Linked DNA regions of Homo sapiens: regions 1 and 3 are each linked to region 2. Evidence: promoter capture Hi-C in 16 types of primary human blood cells and fetal thymus (Javierre and others, 2016). All regions are on one chromosome and are shown on one strand. The core of a region is centred on a gene start or on the middle of the fragment in contact, and the rest is flanking DNA. Distances in the headings are between cores, read along the strand shown.

Evidence for each region. The method cuts DNA at HindIII sites, captures the fragments that hold promoters and counts their contacts. A CHiCAGO score of 5 or more calls a contact.
Region 1: a contact is called between a fragment that was not itself captured here and the fragment with the promoter of SENP7 in region 2, in 1 of 17 cell types (naive CD8 T cells). The highest score is 5.2, in naive CD8 T cells.
Region 3: a contact is called between a fragment that was not itself captured here and the fragment with the promoter of SENP7 in region 2, in 1 of 17 cell types (fetal thymus). The highest score is 5.2, in fetal thymus.

The regions. Positions count from the first base shown.
Region 1 is chr3:100,330,150-100,334,716 of GRCh38, forward strand. No RefSeq gene overlaps it. Among named protein-coding and RNA genes, the nearest start is that of NIT2, 2.3 kb to the right of the region's middle. RefSeq lists an enhancer at 4,376-4,567. The HindIII fragment of the contact is 2,363 bases long and covers 874-3,236 here.
Region 2 is chr3:101,510,020-101,514,733 of GRCh38, forward strand. SENP7 (SUMO specific peptidase 7) reads right to left here and starts at 3,193. Exons shown (of 24, transcript NM_020654.5): 1 at 3,072-3,193. The coding sequence starts at 3,111. The HindIII fragment of the contact is 4,750 bases long and covers 1-3,960 here.
Region 3 is chr3:99,873,676-99,878,247 of GRCh38, forward strand. The region is part of intron 1 of CMSS1 (cms1 ribosomal small subunit homolog); the gene reads left to right. All of the region lies in intron 4 of FILIP1L (filamin A interacting protein 1 like), which reads right to left. The region is part of intron 1 of LOC105374010 (a long non-coding RNA gene); the gene reads left to right. Among named protein-coding and RNA genes, the nearest start is that of HP09053, 52 kb to the left of the region's middle. RefSeq lists a silencer at 2,335-2,804 and an enhancer at 4,370-4,572. The HindIII fragment of the contact is 1,651 bases long and covers 1,869-3,519 here.

The DNA.
Region 1 (4,567 bases), core at 805-3,304, 1.2 Mb before region 2:
AATGAAAACTTAACATCCACACAAAAGAGTTCATGGTTATAACTGCTATACTGTGCCACCTCTTTGCTGTTTGCTGTCCTGGAAACAGCAGGCGAGAGCTAGTGGCCTTCTCAGTGTTTGCTTTTCTCTTCAGGTTGCCAGCTTTACTCAGTTACCTGTCTAACCCACGTGGGTATATTAAATTGGTCTCCCAACGTTAAGTAACTTGTCCAAAGTTACATGGTGTGTCAGCAAAGTTTTGAACTCAGGTCTCCTGATTTGCAGAGAACTGCATCAGAAATTTAAAAATTCTGTGTATCTATGCATTTATGTGTATATTTAGATGCATACACACTCTTTGACTCCTCCCTGTACACAGTTCTAACCCAATATGATAATTCCCAAGTTTGATCCTTTGCTTTCTGTAGTATACTCTTTCCTTCTCCGATTGCATCTACTCATAGATTTCTTCTCTTATTCTTTGCAAATGACTGCAATTCTGATTTTCAGCCCCTAATTTCTGACTGCTGTAAGTCACTTGCGTATTGTGGTGTTACGAGGTATACACACACATACATACACACATTTTCAAGCACGGTCCCTGACTCCCATAGCCTTGTTAAGTCTTTTGTTATAATGCCAGTTGTGTTAGGCCTCAGGGGCAGGCCTCAGGAAACAGAATCTCTCTGGCCTCTCCTGCTCTCCTTTCACCTGCCCCAAGGCAGAACTCTAATCTTGCTGATTGTGGGTCTTAAATACCTCCTGAGAGCTCCTGCCCCATCCCTTGGAGGAAGGAATGCTGATAACATAAAGTTCCCATAAAGGCCAATAGAACTGGGTTTGGAGAGCTTCTAGATAGCTGACCACGTTCGTGGAGGTTCTGGAGGGCATGGAAGCTTTGTGCCCCTCCTCCCATACTTTGCCCTACACATCTCTTCCTTGTAGCCTTTGCAACATCCTTTATAATAAACCAGGAAACATGTTTCCATGAGTTCTGTGAGCTGCTCCAGCAAGTTATTCAAACCCAAAGATGGGATCATGGCAACCCCAACTTGAAAGTGGTTGGTCAGAAGTTCTGGAGTCCAAGACATATGACTGGTGCCGGTGTGTCTTCCTCAGGTAGACAGTGTTGGAATTGAATAGGAGGATACCCAGCTGGTGTCCGCTGCTTGGTGGTAGGGAGGAACCCCCTCACATTTGGTCCCAGAATTCTTCTGTGATGATGATTGTTGTGGTGGTGATGTAAGAGCAGAGGAAAAACACGGAGAGTTTTCCTGGAACACATATCCACCTCTCCCCCAAAAACTGAGCTCACGTTCCCCTAGACTCACCTCATACTATGAAGCGGCAGCTGGAGGAATGCTGATGGAAAGGAGAGACCAGTTAGGAAGTGCCTGTAGCAGTCTCCCCAAGGTGAGGAAGGCCTACCTGTGGACGGTGGTGGTGGGAACTGAAAGGAGGAATCAGGGACATTTCCTGAGAGTAAGAAGAGCCCTGTCCCTTACCAGAGGTGGGGAATGAAAGACTCGAAAGTCACTGAAGTGACTTAGGTTTTCTTGGAGGGCTGGAAAGCAGGGAGAATTAGAAAACTGGGCATAAATTGTGGTGCCTGTAAGTGCTGGGTGGAGAAGCTCTTTTGGAGGTGATACATTTAGTTTCACATAGTTGAGTTGGAACTGATGTTGAGACATGTAAATAGAGATGGCGGCAGCCGGAGATGTTGAAATAGGTCCTCTGGAGTAAAAATAAAAATCTGACTAGTAACAGCCTGGAAATGGTCATTAAGCCTGTGAGACATGGGTAGAAATGAGAATAGAGACTGAAAAGGCACACCAGATTTTTAGCTGGGCTTTCAAGATCCATTTGGCCTGGTAGTTTTGTTTTTTGGCCTATTTTCATACGTCAGATGAACAGGAACATGGAAACGAAGGCAGAGCTGCTGCAGAGAAGGGACAGTGAGGGGAGTGGTGGTGGGGAGGGCTGCACAAACTTCACCCTTCAGCCAGATTCTTCTTCCTTTGCCTCTAAATCCTTTCACATACAGGTGAGGAAAAGGTCCTGAGGGTGAGGTGATTTGCCCTAGGTATTAACATCTAATCAGTGTCAGAGCCAGAACCAGAACCCAGTGACTAGCTTTTCCATTGTGCCCAGAAAGTTCTAAAGAAAGGTTTAAAAAGCGCACTTTCATTTAGCTTTTCCTTTTCTAGGAACACCCCTAGTGCCCAAGTCAGCAGTTTCCCTGCATGTGACAGAGGGACACAGTACCCATAGGCTTTTGGTCTTGATGGCCTTCTCCTGGTCCTGCTTCTCTCTCTCTCTTTTTTTTTTTAATGGAGTCTGGCTCTGTCACCCAGGCTGGTGTGCAGTGGCACAATCTCGGCTCACCGCAACATTCGCCTCCCAGGTTCAAGTGATTCTGCTGTCTCAGCCTCCTGAGTAGCTGGGATTACAGGTGTGTGCCACCACGCCCAGCTAATTTTTGCATTTTTAGTAGAGACGGGGTTTCACCATGCTGGTCAGGCTGGTCTCGAGCTCCTGACCTCTTGATCCACCTGCCTCCACCTCCTGAAGTGCTGGGATTATGTTAATTATTAAATCTAGGAGGAGGACACAGCTGTTCCTCCACCAGGCAGTGGCGCCCGGCCTGGTCCTTCTCCTCTAATGGCTCCTTCCCAGGCTCCACAGGCCCTTCTTCTTTTGCGTGTGCCTTTCATACTCCGCTTGTGTGTTCTCATCCAAATTCAGAGCTTCCTCTTAGTTAAAACTGCTGGTGACTCCCAAGTCAATTTCCAGCCCAGACATCTTCTGAGCTTGAGGCTTTGGTCCGGTTGCCTACTGGGCATCTCCACCTGGATGCCATGGCTCATGCCTATAAGGCCAGCACTTTTTGAAGCCAAAGTGGGAGGATCACTTGAGCCTAGGAGTTTGAGACCAGCCTGGGCAACACTGTAAGAATCCACTTCTAAAAAAATGAAATAATTTGCATTTTGAACAAGCACTTCAAATAACATTTCCAGCCAGGTTTAGGACCACTATTAGTTACAATGTTAGTCCAATAAATTTGGAAATCTAGATGAATTTTTTTAACAGGTTGTAAGTGACCACAGGTTGACCCTGAAACCTCATAGGTTAATAAGCATAGCAGAAATGAAAAGGTTTTTAAAGATCTTCCTGCTACAAAGCCAAGTCCAGATAGTCTCTTAAGCTGCAGAAAGACCATAACTGCTATGTATTTCCCCCCAATTTTTTTTTATGAAAGCTTAAAATTTTAAACTTCTACAAAGTTTTAATCTAGTACCATGAACAGCTGTGTCCTCCTCCTAGATTTAATAATTAACATTTTGCCATATTTGCTTTATCTTATGTGTTTTCTTTTTGCTGACGATTTTCAAGTCAAACATTCTGATGGTTCATCCCTAATACTTCCTCATTTTCTAAGAGTAAAGAATTGTCACAAGCACAACACTATAGCACACAAAATAATTCAGAAAAGCATCAAATATCTCGTTCATATTTAAATCTCCCTAGTTGCCCCCAAAATGTTTTTATAGTGTTCTTTTACAAACCAAGATCTGTTTCAGTATAAACTATTCTGGGGCATTCCAAAAGGTGGTTAAGTTTTGGATTTTTGTTCCACAAGTCTGACAAGGCACAAAAACACAAAACACGAAAATTAAAAAGCAATCTAATAAATAAAAATGCAAAAATCATAGTCTATAGGCTGGGCGCAGCAGCTCACGCCTATAATTCCAGCACTTTGGGAGGCTAAGGCAGTAGGGTCTTGAGCTCAGGAGTTTGAGACCAGCCTGGGCAAAATAGCAAGGCCCCACCTCTATTAAAAGTAAAAAACTTAAAAAAAAAAAAAAAAGAAAGAAAGAAAGAAAAAGAAAAAAGGAAAAGAAATAGCTAGGTGTGGTGGTGTGTGCCTGTAGTCCCAGCTACTTGGGAGGCTGAGGACGGAGGATCGCTTGAGCCGGGAGGTTGAGGCTGCAATGGGCTGAGACTGCTGCACTGCACTCCTGACTGGATGACAGAGTGAGACCCTGTCTAAAACAAACAAACAAAAAAGGATATTAGCAAAGAGATGACAATGTATTCGAGGACTGACTTGTTGAGGGCATGGCGTTGAACCCTCAGCATCTTTCCCGTTGGCCTAGCAGCCTTGTAGTCAGATTTTACAGACGTCTCGCGTGCCTAAACCAACCAGGGTCATTCCGTCCCCGTCACAGAGACTTGTTCAAATAGCTCAAGCCCATCAGCATACGGTGTTAACCTGGCCACAGAGGTGATTCAACCAGCTAGAAGTTCAGTCCTTTTGCGGAGAATCAGCAAACGCTACAAATCAGGGCTTTCCTCCCTGAAAAGTCTGGTTGTTAAGACATTCACCAGCACACCACCTCGACTTAGGCCGTTCCCTTTTGCCCTTTGCCTTTCGAGGCATGCTTTTTCCGGACTGTGTTGCAATTAACCATTTCTCGTTGGTCCGTCCTGGTGTTACAGGCGCACTGGAATGAACGCAGACCCTTCTCTCCTCCCGGCCGGGGCCAGGAGGAGGGGTGGGGCGGGGCCTCTGACGCGGTCCCCGCCC
Region 2 (4,714 bases), core at 1,943-4,442:
ATGTTGCCTGAAGCAATCAGTTGAAAACTGGTTCAAATTTACTTGACGTTTCCTATTTTGATTCAAAAATTCACTTGAAAATTGCAGTCTATGATTCTAATTTATCTGTGCTGTATTTTTGTTGTTTAACACTTTTAATGGTCATTCTCCCTTGCTCCCAGACACTTTATCATTCAACTTCAGTGAACCTGTCTCTGATGCCAGCCGTTTTTTAATGTGTATCACCATCTAATATACTGCTTTAAATGGTATAGTTATCAGTTACATGAGTTACAAATACATGTGTTTAGCTTAAACCATCTGGAATTGGGTTTCTGCTACTTGCAACTGAAAAAGTTTTGAGCGGTACACTGTGAACATTTTACAGTTCTTCCTTGTTTAGCAGAAAGTTTAGGGCAGCCTAATGTAGTCTCACAGATAAAACTTCAAATTTTGTGTTTTATTTTATCTTTCTACTGCTACCCACCTTCCTTCTACCTCTTCTTCCTGTTTTATTAATCAAACTCTTCTGCATACTTAGGAAACTTTGATGACTATAAATGTCACTTCATGGCCGGGCACGGTGGCTCACGCCTGTAATTCCAGCACTTTGGGAGGCCGAGGCAAGTGGATCACCTGAGCTCAGGAGTTTGAGACCAGCCTGGCCAACATTGTGAAACCCCATCTTTACTAAAAGTACAAAAATTAACCGGGCATGGTGACAGGCACCTGTAATCTCAGCTGCTAGGGAGGCTGAGGCAGAAGAATCGCTTGAACCTGGGAGGCAGGGGTGGTAGATTGTGCCACTGCGCTCCAGCCTGGGCAACAGAGCGAGACTCCATCTCAAAAAAAAAAAAAAAAAAAAGTCACTTCATTTGGGTTCCAGTTAGCAACAACTTACAATGAAATGGCAACTGCATGCCTACAACCACTACACGGAATCTTTCAACCAGCCAATGTTTTATTTCTGAGAATTTATTCAGGAAATTAAATATACGCTATTAAGAAAAGCAGAAGCATACTTAAAAATTAATTAGTGCACATCTTAAAACTAGAGGCATACTGGAGAACAGCTAGGTAACATTAGATTTGGGTATGGATTTTATTATACCTTACTTTTCAGAAAGGACAGCTCCAAAAGAGAGATCACGAGAAAAAGAAAACGCTCTCTAGAGATATAACTAACGTAAATATCAATGTCTTTTAAGGATTAACAGCTTTATTATCAAAATCCACTTCCCACAACTACTTACATCAAGTTACTGTGACAAATAAATAAATCTAAGTGTAATCAGGTAAAAAGGAACGTGACTTGTTGAATTACAAGGCAAATATCTTACCTTCCCTCCTCAAAAATGTATTAAACCTAGATGAAATGCATTTATTTAAAAAAGGTTGTGCATCTCAAAGGAAGATATGATCACACCTAAAGTTCTGTGTTAGGAAGCCCGCAAATGACACCAGCTAAGCATTGTGCGTTTTCCTAATGTGTCCATTTTACTTAGAGGTTTGGTGGGGGGTGGAGACTATTAAAACACTCATCAGTTGGAGGCATATACCTACATGTATGTATAAATATACATATATATCATTTATACATGTGCTTTCAAAGGAAAAAACTATTATCTCCAGAATATACACCAAGAACATCGATAACATTGGTTGCATATGAAAAGGGATTTCAGGTTTTCAACTGCTTCAAGCAGTGTCCCCAGAGATCCATAATCACTCTCCTTTGCAATTAAGGCTGAAAGCAGTTTGAGATGCACTGCCACAGGGCACTCCTAAATAAATTTGGAATTGGTTTTTTTTGTTTTTTTTTTGTTGTTGTTGTTGTTTGATACAGAGTCTCGCTCTGTTGCCCAGGCTGGAGTGCAGTGGTGCGATCTCGGCTCACTGCAAGCTCCGCCTCCCGGGTTCACGCCATTCTCCTGCCTCAGCCTCCTGAGTAGCTGGGACTACAGGCGCCCGCCACCACGCCCGGCTAATTTTTTGCATTTTTTAGTAGAGACGGGGTTTCACAATGTTAGCCAGGATGGTCTCGATCTCCTGACTTTGTGATCCGACCGCCTCGGCCTCCCAAGGTGTTGGCATTACAGGCGTGAGCCACCGCGCCCGGCCAATAAATCTGTAATTGTTAACTGTCTCTGCAGAAACCAACGGTACCATCAGAAACAGAAAAATGAAATGAAATAATTGATTCATTGGGCGTTCGTTTGTGTACTGGACTGTAAGCATATGAGTCCTCGTCCTCTCCTCCTACCATCCATAGGACTTAACACAAGGACTTGAGGACCCCCTAATGGATGAAATGTTTGATAAAAACTTCTCAACTGGGAGGAGCTCTACCTCACGTTTTTATAACTCCACTTTCTTGTTTCCAAGACGTTGTACACAAAACTGAAGATAGTCATTTAAAACAAAGTAACGTCCAAAACAAAAAATATGCTGAAAATAAAAACACAACGAAAGCACGGCTTCAAATCCTTTGTTTGACTTTCCAATCACTTTTGGAAGACGCAGGGTAGGCTGGAAAAGAAAAAGGCTATTAGGCGGGCCTGTTCAGCAGAACGAGACCCGGAGAGGCATTGTATCAAAGAAAAGGAGTCTCCGGTCGCAAGCCCCACCTTTCCTCCCCAGCAGCAGCTACCTGCTGAGGGAAAGAGGAGGGAGAGGGGAAGGGACGCAAAGTCGAGAATCAAAGGAAGAGAGGAAAGTGGGGTCAGGCGCTGAGAAGCCGAAATGAAATTGGAACATTGGTGGAATTACGAGGAAGGCGTGGCAGAGAGTGACAAGCCAACCGGGAAGATCCATGGGCCGATGAGACGCAAGGAGGGTGTTCGCGGGAGGAGGGAAAAAATAAAAGGGGTTTTGAGGTGAAGAGCGCCCGAGGCTTCGATGACAGCTCGGACCGGGTCTTCGACTCCAGGGGCGGGGGCGACCCGGGAGCCTTCCATTGTGCGCGCCCCTTCCTCTCCCCGCCCCCGCCCTCGCCCCCGCGGCTTCGGGCCGCAACCCCAGCTGCCGCCTGCGCCTCCCGTTTCCCCCGGGTAGGAGACAATATGTTCAGCCCTTCTCTGACCCTTTCTCACCGGATGAAGATGGCCGTCGCCCGAGCTTTCTCTTGTCCATCTTCTCCCGCTGCTGAAATTTCAGTTGCAGGCGCTGTCACCTCAGGACCCCTCCGGCTTGGAGAGGGAGGGGGAGGGGAAAGGAAAAAAAAAAAAAAAAAAAAAAAAAAAAAAAAGCCCGCAAAGTGCGAAGCGCGCTTGCGCAAGAGCCGTCGCCTGCCCTTCGACCGGAAATCAGCCGCCCCTCCCACCTTCGACCGGAAATCACTTCCTGGGACTTTTCACTGTGGGCTGCCTCTTCCAGCGTTTTTTTGGTGGCGTTTATTTCATGATCTGAGCCCCTCTGGGGAGGTGAACCACCTGGGTGCTCGATTTTAGCTTTGTTGACTTTGAAGATTAGATTGACAAAAATTAAAAGGGAAAAACAGGAACTCCTCCGGTTCACTGGATCTCGCGAGGTGGCCAAACAACTATGAAAACAAAACGTTAGCGTTTGCAGTATTACATCCCTCACAGCCTCTCTTACATATTTGCCCCCAACGCCTTTCCTCGAACTCAGAAACCAAAAGATTTTAAGATGGCAAAATCACCTAATAATAGCCTAGCTATTAGTTTAGCATTTGCTGTGGAAATATGTCAGCAGACGAGGAAAAATGTCTTAGGATTCCTTTTTAAAATTCGAACTTGTGATTTTTAAAGTTCCTTAAAAGAAAAGCTAGAACTTAATTTTTCAATAACTGAAATGCTGATATGACAGAAAGTGGGTGGCTATAAACTTGGAATTTGTTCAATTAACATTTACCACGATACTTAAGGGACTAATCCAGTCCTCAATGAACTCAAGGTCTGGTACTATTAGCCTGATTATCCCTAATGGTGCATATCTGAATAATTTTTAAATGCACGTGTAAGCTTTCATGACGATTTAATCACAAGTTTAACAAAATTCAGCACAGTGCTCTAAGCAGGGAAAATGTTTCTGGCATGTTCAAAGCCCGAAGGGACTCTGGAAGTAGGGTTTGATTCCCAAGCTGGCCCCTTTATACCCCTAACGCCTATCCCTCCAACCCCCATCTCCCATCCTAACGGAGTCAATAAAGGGATCGGCCCAACTCGTCCACTAGAGCAGTCCCCTTCATCGTGAGTTAAGCCTTCTTAATTATAATGTGGTCAGTCCCCAGGTAGAGGTAAGGCCCCAGGTGTTGTGGGGTGTTGGGCCTGGGGAAGTGTTCTACATGGCAGGAATGACTGCAAAGCAGAAATACTTTAAGTCTTGCTGGGATTGAAGTTTACTGTAAGGATTTCGTTTTATTTGGTTAATTTCTGTTTAACAAAAACATTGCTTTCTGAAAAATAATTGAATTTTCAGTTTCCTCACAAATTAACTTTTTTTTTTTTTTGAGACGGAGTCTCGCTCTGTCGCCCAGGCTGGAGTGCAGTGGCACAATCTCGGCTCGCTGCAAGCTTCACCTCCTGGGTTCACGCCATTCTCCTGCCTCAGCCTCCCGAGTAGCTGAGACTACAGGCGCCCGCCACCACGCCCGGCTAATTTTTTGTATTTTTTAGTAGAGATGGGGTTTCACCATGTTAGCCAGCATGGTCTCGATCTCCTGACCTCGTGATCCGCCCGCCTCAGCCTCCCAGAGTGCTGGGATTACAGGCGT
Region 3 (4,572 bases), core at 1,444-3,943, 1.6 Mb before region 2:
GAAATTACAGCAGAGAACCCTTAAACAAAATTTACAGCCTTTTGAGAAGGCAAATTAATGGGAACTGCAAGAGAACCGGAAAATTAAGTCAAGGCTTGATTTGTGTTTTCATACTGGCTGTTACTATAGTCTCCATCACAGCATTAGGAAAATAGCACAAAAATACCAGGGCTTAACAGTTAAGGTTAATCACCACAAAAGTGCAAATGAACTTACTAAGCATAAAATTATTATGTGCTTTATTTGGAAGTGTAGAAATTCACATTCATTCTATCAAAAACATTTTCCCATCATACAGATTGTCCCAAGGACTAAGAAATTGCTCATCCAAAGAGCCCAGTGTGAGATAGGGTATCCATGATAAGTCATACTTAGCTTTCAGTTTTAAAAGAGGTCTTATGTGATTGTTCTTTGAACCATGCTTTAAAGTTAATAAATGGGAAAAAGTGTGGAATATTAAAGAGTGTTATTTTTAAATTTTAAAAAATCGATGCTTGCCTGCTTTAAAAAAATAAAAGACACTGGGAAACACAGCTGTTAGAATTTTGATGGAAGTTATGATTTTCAACAGTTGAGTTGTAGTTTATGGTACAGATGGTACTCTGGGTATACCTGAAACAATAATTGATGGTTTCTGTTTGTCTCTTCCTCTGTTAGATTCAGAAGAGCAGAATATCTTTTTTCCAGAGCAGGAATTTTTCAGTTTCCAATTACCGCTTATATCAGATAAACAACTCTTCCATTGCATATTCTGTACTTCTCCACAGTGACATGGGTGTTGGCCCCGCTCTTCTCATTATGGTGGGCTTCCCTAGGTTTGAAATAATAGTTTGTGGAAAATCCTACTTCTCAGTACTAACCTGCAGTTTATATAGCCTATCCTCAGGCCAAATAACATATAATTTTTCTTTTAAAATATGAAAACCAAAGTCGTGCATTGCTCCAAACAAAATTAGCAAAAACAAAAAAACTGCTATGAGGCAAAAATGATAGGCACCAATGTCATATACTTTTAAAAACCATCCAACAGAAATTATTAGAAATATACAGATATAACCCACATTTTGAGTATTTTTTAAATGCTGTGTTTCAATGATAAAATCTGGGATCTGACATTTTCTTCTGACAATTAAATATAAAAACATGAGTTTGTAACACACACATACACCTCAGTGGTTATAGTGCTCTGCTCCTCTGTTAAACTTTTACTGTACCTCCAAACAGTTATCTTATATGGTCATTTTAGTGCCAACTAAAATGCCAGCATTTTAAAATCTCAGAGTAAATATAAATGGCAGCCTATGAATTCTGAGTTTGAATTGTATATACTTATAAAACATAGAGACTGTTTTAAAAGGGACAATTCTGTCACATAGTTGTTAAAGTTTTATTTTACAATATATGTTTAGACCAGATAAGGATTGAATGATGAATCAATTTTTCATCTCCTATTCCAGTGTTCTAAAGTTGACATAACCTTTTTATTTTTAATTCCTACGTTGACTTTTAGTTGGAAAAAATGAAGTAAAATATTATGGAGATTTTTCTGCCAAGTGTTCAGTTATCATACTGTAAGAGTTCATTGGTAGCAATAGCCTCTTCAGGATTTAGATGTAACTAATTATGGTTTAAAATGTTACTGATTAATACAGTTACTCTATAAGTTTTACCTTTTAAATTGGCATTTTTTACATAATATACTACTATCCAAAATATTACTCTAGAAATGATAGCTGTAAGTGAGGTTTGTCATTTTTCCAATGCCTGGACTTGAAGCAGAAAGTTAGAACTCAAAACTATGATAGTTACTTCCTTGTACAAATTGACATATGCTTTTACGACAAAATAGCGTTTGTACGATTTTTTGAAGCTTAAAAAGATTTTACTTTTTAAGTTAGATTCGTCTTAATTCCAAGATGTATTCCTAACAGTGTTTTTCTAGTCGTTTATATTAACATTTACAAAAAGAGGGGAAAACCTGGCACTAACAAATTTTCGCATTCTGCTCATGTAAGACAAGCGAGTTTGAGTCCGGAGGAGAGATAGGGTTGCTGCAGTACAATATAGTCTCCCCCACCCTTTCCCCAAAGATTTCTCAATATGGGCAGGATTCAATGTGTAGCTCACTTGGAAAGCGTATGTAATACAGTCACCTCCCACCTCTCAACATTTAAAATTAAATCTCTAATCTGTTTTCTCCTCCAGAGAAAACTTCTACTTTCAAGTTTTGTGTGAGTTGGAAACGGTTTTGAACCTAGAATTCATTGGATGCGCTTTGCGAAACCTGTCTGCAGTTTGTGATGCTGAGACAGCTTTAACAGCCACCCACAGACTTGCTACCTGGCTGTCTGACAGCAGTGCCCCTTGGTGGAGCGAAGTTGCTCTCCCGGGCTTACCTGAACTGCCTGCGCCGGGGCCGGGCGGGGGCCGGGCCGGGGCCGCTGTAGTGCCGCGCTGCGAGCCGACTGTGCGCGCTCCGAGAGTCGCCCGAACAATGCGAGCGGGGCGCTGAGCGCGCCCGGCCTATGGGCGTTACGTCACTGTTCTGCCTTATAAGGCGCTCCGCGTGTGCGGCGCTGTCGGCGGGGGCGCCGGTGACCGCGGGACCCTCGGCCGCGGCGGCGGCGCAGCCACACACCCCAGCTCCCGCGGATGTTCCGGCCGTGTGAACGGACCGTGGTTCCCGGCTCCCAGCGGAGGGAATGAGTGGTGGGCCGGTGGGCCGGGGCGCCGGCGCCCTCCTGTCGGGCTAACAAAGTCATTGGGAGGCAGGGTCGATCCGCTTGTAACTTTTTTCCCTCTGGGTCCCTAAAGCTGTTGTTGCTTCAGGGACTTCAATACACATCCTGTTATTCTTATGTAAACTTTTGTAAATTCATTATACTTTTTATTTTTGGTTGCTGGGGGTAGGCGGGAGAGGGAAAGGAGAAGTCTGGGGTTTTGTGGAGACATCTCTGGGGGTGATTTAGACTTCAAACCTTCTCTTTCCTCTTTGTAATGAGTAGGGGTCCTCAGAGGATGGTGTTTTATTTCCTGATGATGTAACTACCAAACAATTCTTCAAGTGATGATGGAAAGGCCAGATGAAATCTTATTTTTTTCAGTGTTTTTCCTGAAAGAACTTCCTCTTTCCCCATTTCTGCATGCCTGTGTTTTAACGAAAGCAGTTAAAACTATCATTTTTTGGCAGGGAAAAAATTTTTAAAGAAATTAAATGTTTTGTGCTGTACTTTCAAGACAATGTATAAAATTAGAACTTTAGAGCCAGTTTTAATGTTTGTTCTCTTCTACCGGCAAACAAAATAAAGCCAAAAATAACCACGTGAAGAAAAAAGAAATTAGCCAAATGTGATTGAATTAAGAATATTATCCTCTAGTATGGGGTAGATTTACTTGTACAAATCCTACTTCTTGTGAATGAGAATTCACCTCCGAATTATAAGAGAAGTCATACCTAAAGTTCTAGCCCAACTATATGAATCTGCTAAATAAATTAGGGACGTGGCATTCTTATTTGCAAGCTTCAGATGAGTAATTTTAGTAGCTTGAGTCCTTTTAAAACCTCTTTTAAAATTACATTAAAATAGGATTGCTTCCTATTATGATGTACATATGTCTGTAGAATTATTGTTTCCATATGTTTTGTCAAACAAGAATGACGAAAATAGTCTGCTCGCTTCATTTTCTTAGTGTGGAGTGGAGAAAGGATGTTTGCAGAGTTGTTAGTGGAAATGGTGTGGAATAAAGATGCAGGGCACAACATTAAATGTATGTCCTCTTCACTAAATTGGGAGTTCACTTTATCATTATTCTAGATCACTCTAAGTACCTACTGAGAAACCTAAAGTAAACTCACTCTTGCTTTTCATATACAGTATACTAAGAGATGTGAATTACACATACTCTTCAGCCGAACTTAAAATTTAATATTTGATTTGCAATTGTGTACTAACATTTTGGATGTTGAGTTTGTAGTTTTGTTGGTTTTAACTCTTCTGCCCTATACTTGTGAATTGCATTGTAATCTTTTTAGTCTCCTGTGCTTACCTCATACTTATTAAATATCCTTTTTGAGACTTTTATGCTGCATTTTTTATTACAAATGAGATTAAATGACTTTTATGAAAGTTGTATGATGCATAAACACCTGAATCTCAGCCCCAAACTGATAGCATACTTTTACCCCAAAGCTAACAGTTTTGTAGCTTGTTTTGCATCTTTTTCCCTCTGATAGGCAAATATGTTTCCTAACATTTAACACTACCATTTGTTTCTTTCTCACATATCCATACTCAAGTTTTGCATTTATTTTCATTCTTTTGACTTGCTGGTTCCCATGAAATATGTTAGTATTATTTCCTCCTTTTCTTTAGCTATATTCTGAAGAATAGAGGAAAGAGGATTAGGGCTTCTACTCCTTGTATGCCCTTGCCTGGTACACTACTTGCCTGGTTACATTACTAATGTGTTACTCCTGAAACATCAGTCTCTTGACCCAGCTATGACTCAGCTTTCCAAGTGAGGTCATAGTTATGTGACCACTGTCTTCAGGAACCAATATTAATAGCCCTC